Linked DNA regions of Homo sapiens: region 2 is linked to region 1. Evidence: promoter capture Hi-C in 16 types of primary human blood cells and fetal thymus (Javierre and others, 2016). All regions are on one chromosome and are shown on one strand. The core of a region is centred on a gene start or on the middle of the fragment in contact, and the rest is flanking DNA. Distances in the headings are between cores, read along the strand shown. Region 1 holds the start of GABARAPL1 (GABA type A receptor associated protein like 1). Region 2 has its middle 52 kb from the start of LINC01252.

Evidence for each region. Contacts are between HindIII fragments. The CHiCAGO score rates a contact against its expected background, and 5 or more counts as called.
Region 2: a contact is called between a fragment that was not itself captured here and the fragment with the promoter of GABARAPL1 in region 1, in 4 of 17 cell types (naive B cells, total B cells, total CD4 T cells and 1 more). The highest score is 8.0, in naive B cells.

Annotation. Positions count from the first base shown.
Region 1 is chr12:10,211,468-10,214,255 of GRCh38, reverse strand. GABARAPL1 (GABA type A receptor associated protein like 1) reads right to left here and starts at 1,379. Exons shown (of 4, transcript NM_031412.4): 1 at 1,037-1,379. The coding sequence starts at 1,126. It overlaps GABARAPL1-AS1 (GABARAPL1 antisense RNA 1), which reads left to right. Exons shown (of 3, transcript NR_170310.1): 2 at 1-202; 3 at 294-607. RefSeq lists a silencer at 1,247-1,506 and an enhancer at 1,600-2,142. The HindIII fragment of the contact is 15,130 bases long and covers 1-2,788 here.
Region 2 is chr12:11,494,240-11,497,488 of GRCh38, reverse strand. No RefSeq gene overlaps it. Among named protein-coding and RNA genes, the nearest start is that of LINC01252, 52 kb to the left of the region's middle. The HindIII fragment of the contact is 956 bases long and covers 952-1,907 here.

The DNA.
Region 1 (2,788 bases), core at 130-2,629:
TCAAGAAAAGACATCAGATAACAGCAATTATTTTACCATTATGTGACACGTAATACTAATGTTCCTACCTGAAGATAAAGAGCACAATTTTAAAATCTCCGCTCCTCCATTTCCAAAATCCAACAGCTGCTGGTCCCCCTACCACTTAAGCCATATTCTGCCCTCCAATTCGGCTGCGCAGCCTGCATTAGAGAAACACCAGGCAAGTGGGCGGGGGAGGGGGTAATGGGGAAAACGCCCGGATGCTGAAAGATACCTAATACTTTTCTGTTCCTACTCACTGCCTGCGGTAGTTTTAACTACTTAAGCCGGTGTCCAAAACGGAGAAAAAACGTCTCAGTCCTGCCTTATCGCGACCAGGTACCAGGTGATCAGAAATCAACACGAGGAGGCTGGCTGTCCCCACACAAGCCCCGGAGCCTAGAACGATGAGGCAAGAGGGCTGTTGGGCAGAGAACGTGACCTTGTTTTCCAGGCCAGGACTGTCTTGTGCTCCCCTAACCCCCTGTAATGCAAGAAAATTACTGAATAGCTTCTGAACCTTTTCGTCCCAAGACCAATGATATGAGAGCCAAAGTCAACTTCATTAAAGGAGAACCAGCCAAGGCAGAAATCGACTGGGTTTGCGCAAACCTCACCGCACAGCACAATGTCCCTGCGTTCTTAAAGGCAGCCAATCCATGGCCCCGATCTAACCAGTCTCGCCCACAGGGGCCCTATTTTGTGCACCGCAACCCACACACGGTCTCAGCTGCTGAGACCGTGTGTGGGTTGCTGAGTCACTGAAGACGGCGGCTCGGCCCCCAAAACGCCGTCAGCCCTGAAGTGGGGTTCGGGGCCCAGGCATACGGGGTTTTAAAAGCTCTACAGTCTGGACGTCCATTGGCTCTGGCACTGAAGGGCGTTCAGGATTAAGTAATTCTCGGAACCTCCCTTCTCCAGAGCCGCCTGGGCGCCCCAGGGAAGCCATCTCGACTACCCGCCCCCGCCCCCGCGGGCCCTTCCCCTCCCATCCCCTCCGCTCCTCTACACTCACGGGGACCCTGTCCGGATATTTCTTCCGGATCTTTTCTCCTTCCTTTTTCCGATACTCAAAGGGATGGTCCTCCTTGTACTGGAACTTCATGATGCACCGCAGGGCTTCCGAGATCCCCGCGCGGGGCCTGCCTCCTTCGCCGCTGACCCTGTCCCGCTCCCTCAGCCGACGTCAAGGTGTGCTCAGAATAGCTGCAGAAACGTCCGCTCCGGGGGCAACAGCGCTGGGCCGAGTGTGCAGGGGGGGTTCGGGGCGGGGATCTCGGGTGAGCCTGCCTGGAGGTAGAGGAGAGCCAGATGGAGAAATACCGGCGGCTTTTCGCTAGAGCTGGGAGCACAAAAACAGCTGGGTGGCGCGTCGGGCTGTGACGTCACCCCGCGAGCCCCGCCCCGCCCCCCATGCGCCAGGCGCCCAGGGCAGGGGGTGGCCGAGCGCTCTGTCTCACTGCGTTTCCTTTCTGGCTAACCTTTTTCACAATCGATGTCACTGCAAACATCAAAACATTCGAGTTATGTTTTATTTTGTGACTGTGAAATTAAAGATGGTTTTAAGACAAAAAAAAGATTTAAACATGTTTTATTCCCCCTCCACTGTTTTTCTTGGTTGGGCCCCAAAACAAATACAAAAGGCGAAAATCCAGCCTTTTCCTGCTGGTTGGGATCCAGCCTCAGGAGAAAAGAGGGCCAGGCCTCCTGGGATCCCTTTGGCCAATGCAGAGCTGTCCCGTGCTTGCACCGTGCCCTCTGCGCGTTCCGCTGCCCCTCCCGCGGCCCTCCTCCCGCGCTGGCGTCACAGTGTTTGGGCGGTGCCGCAGTTCGCTCCTGAACAGCAACATAAACAGAGCGTGACTCAGGAATCTGAAGAGAGGAGTCAGATGAAGGACACGGAGTGTAATCAAAGTCTAAAGGAGACATGATGTCAGTAAGGACTACCGAGGGCTTCACGTACAATCAAATATAGAAATGATTCACTTTCTAGCCGGGCGCGGTGGCTCACGCCTGTAATCCCAGGAGGCCGAGGCGGGCGGATCACCTGAGGTCAGGAGTTCGAGACCAGCCTGACCAACATGGAGAAACCCTGTCTCTACTAAAAATACAAAATTAGCTGGGCGTGGTGGCGCATGGCTGTAATCCCAGCTACTCTGGAGGCTGAGGCAGGAGAACCGCTCTAACCCGGGAGGCGGAGGTTGCGGCGAGCGGAGATCACGGCGTCGCACTCCAGCCTGGGCAACAAGAGCGAAACACCGTCTTACAGAAAAAGAAAGGAAGGGAGGGAGGGAGGGATTCACTTTCTGCCATAAACTCAGAAAGGGGGCTCGTCTTCTGGAAAAGAGAGTATCAAGCAATTTAGGTGATGACCTCAGTTGTTCCCCCACATCTTATTTAGTTCCAGTGGTTAGGTATCCCTCACGTGACTAGAAAGCGCTGCCTGGAATGCTAGTAGAAGATTGGGCATTAGGGCAGGTGAGGCGAAGCCTCGTTCTGGATTTCCCCACCTAGAGTCAAAGAAGAAAGACCTTCCAACCAGTACTGTAGGGCAGCGACAGGGAGGACTGTGGAGTTTGCAAAGAAAAAGAACAGTGAAAAGGGGCTGCGTTGCCCATACAAGTCGGGTGAGTTCTGATAAATATTAGATAACAGCAGCCCCGTGGCCTATCTTCTTCAGTCGGGGTCTCAGTGTCTCTAATTTTAAAAACACCCACAGGGGGCCAGGCGCGGTGGCTCACGTCTGTTCTCCCAGCACTTTGGGAGG
Region 2 (3,249 bases), core at 180-2,679, 1.3 Mb before region 1:
TTAGTTCCCACCCACCTTTAAAAAATAAATAGAGGCCAGGCACAGTGACTCACGCCTGTAATCCCAGCACTTTGGGAGGTCGAGGTGGGCGGATCACAAGGTCGAGAGATCAAGACCATCCTGGCTAATATGGTGAAACCCTGTCTCTACTAAAAATACAAAAAATTAGCTGGGCGTGGTAGCATGCACATGTATTCCCAGCTACTCGGGAGGCTGAGGCAGAATTGCTTGAAAGCTGGGAGGTGGAGGTTGCAGAGAGCCGAGATTGCACCACTGCACTCCAGCCTGGGTGACAGAGCAACGCTCCATCTTAAAAAAAAAAAGAAAAAAAAATTAAATAGAGAAGTCAGTCATGATGACGTGGGAGGATCACCAGAGGCCAGGAGTTCATGACCAGCCTGGGCAAAATAATGAGACCCCTGTCTCTTAAAAGGTTTTATTAAAAAAAATTAAATAGAGAAGCTAGACATGAAAGGACAGATATTGTGTGAGTCCACTTATGTGAGGTGCCTAGAACAGTCCAGTTCATAGCAGCAGAAGCAGTGGCCGCCAGGGATGGGGAAACAAGGTGGGAGTTGGGCAGCTTGTGTTTCATGGGTAGAGTTTCAGGTTGGGATGATGGCAAAGTCCTGGAAATGGCTGGTGGTGACGGCTGCACAGCAGTGTAAATGTGCGAATGCCACTGAGCTGTATGCTTAAAAATGGTTTTGATGGTAAATTTTAGGTTAGGTCTATTTTACCACAATAAAAAGCTAGGAAAAGCTGGTAGAAAGAAAGAAAAGAAAGGAAAAGAAGACAAAGAAGAAAAGAAAGAAAGAGAGAGGGAAAGAAAGAAAGAGAGAGGGAAAGAAAGAAGGAAAAGAAAGAAAGAAAGAAAAAGAAAAGAGAGAAAGGATGAAAAAATATTAATTTCTTTCTCAGGCAATAGTCCAGATTTTGTATTATGAAGCTTGTGTATCAGCTCTGCCCTATGAAGTCCTTGGGATACCAGGCTCCTTCCTCCTTTCTGCCCCACCATTCCTTGGATGTAGCCCTTGACCTTTTAATCGAGGTTGGAGGATGAGGAGAGAAAAGGAAGCAATGGCCTAGAAACTGCCATTGAGCACATGCCTACATCCCATTGGCCAGATGTCAGTCACATGACCACACCCACCTGCAAGAGATGCTGGGAATTGAAGTCTCATTTGTGGGTAGTCATGTATTTAGGCAAAATTTGAGGACTCCATCACCTTGGAAGAAGGAGAGAATAGATAGTGGGGACAACTTAGCCATCTCTGCTGTCATCCCCATTTGATCTCTCAATGGTCAGAAACCACAGAGGAGAAGGAGTGACTCCCAGAACATCCAACATTCAGCCTCCCCTTATTACTCTTCATTCTTTTTCATCCTTAAAGAATCCTTCTGGCCACTCCCACTAGGCATTGTCATCTCCCAAGAATTACAAACTATCCATGGATTCCTTCATCTTACAAACCTACCTGCTTCGTGGTAGGCACTGTATTAGGTAAGGGGACTAGAAAGATAGAGGAGGTGCAGTCTTTTCCCTAAGGAGTCTTCAGTCTAGCAGGCAGGAGTAGAAATGTGGACCAACTGTCCTGAAGTGTGACAGTTGTATAGATAGACATTTGAACAACATATGGTGGGGTATTAAAAAAAAACAGTTAACACTAAACTCAAAAACAGATAAGGGAGGGATAAGAAAATGCATCATAAAGGAAGTCTGCCGTAAACTAAGTGTTTAAAGTTTGGTTCATTGGATGGAGGGGACAGGACAGAGTCTCTGTCTTTCTCCCTCCTTTTTTGCTCCTTCCCCCATGCCTAATATGCTTTGTATAAAACCACCTGTATGCAAAACAGATCAATCCAGCTACTATCCTATTAAAAATATAGTGCATTGGCTATAAGCTTAAGTTACTAACTTGCATATTCATTTACATGGCAATTCCTGTAACCTTGCCTCTTAAGAAAACTAGACGAAATAAAATTAATTACCAAAGGCAGCCAGCAGCAAAAATATCCAAACCTTAATTCTAGGTACAAGCTACAGAACATGGCACAAAGTGGACTGTGGTGGGGGTCTGTAGATAAGGTGAAGCAATAGTTTTACATCAAAAAATTATTGGGTTCTATACAAGTGCAATCATAAATGAGGCATTGGAATTTGGCTTCACATTGACTAAACTGTTGAGCCATGGTTCACTCATTAACATTCTGTGTTAATGATATTCTAGTTATCATTAAAAAAGTAAAGGTGAAACTGAGAAACTATAAGCAATAAAACTTGGTGTTTAGGAGAAAATAATTTATCATCCATAATATATAATTTTGAAAGATTAAAAACACATTCATCTCAATACAAAAATTCAATAATGCTTGAATTACTTCCAACGTGTTCATCCAAGGTGAACCTTCACATTTTTACAAACTCTTTTTCTTTATGAATTTTTGTTGACTAAGAACAAATTTTTTTCATTTTCTGAACTTCAAAATTATGCATTTTTCTATATGCTATACACATGAAACTTATGCTTCCTATGTATTAATTTTACAATTTTAAATTCCTTGGAAGATATCTTGTTTTTAAGTATTAAATTCAACTTTATTAGCATGTGTTCATTATCTAATAAAACAAAATGAACCATAGAAAGCAGGGATCCCCAGACTTTTTAAATAAAGAGTCAGGGAGCAGACATTTTAGACTTTGCTGACCACATACAGTCTATGTCACATATTTATCTTTGTTTTTTTTCTTTTAACAACCTTAAAAATGTAAAGACAATTCTTAGCTATGGGCCAAACAGGTCTTAATTTGACCCGTGGGCCTTACTTTGCAAACCTCTGAAAAGCCTTGATATCAGAAACCTATATGCCTATAAATAACTATAATACAAGGGAGATATATTAATGCTATGTACGAAATAATGAAATTGGTGGATATGTAGAATATGGTTCTTTTCCAGTGTTCCTTTGCTCAGCAACGGTATCATTATCCATAAAGCTATGAAGCTGGAAACCGTTGAGTCATCCTCAACATGACTCTCTCCCTTTCTCTCATGCATTATATTGAATCTATCATCAAGTTCCATCCATTTTACTTCCTAAACGTTTCTCAACTTGATTCACTTCTACCTCACTGCCACAGTCCTATAAAACTATCATTACCCTTTACTTGGAATGCAAGATTCCTAGATTCCTAACTGGTGTCTCTAATCTACCCTCATCTATTTTTCTTCTCTACCAAAAGTCTAG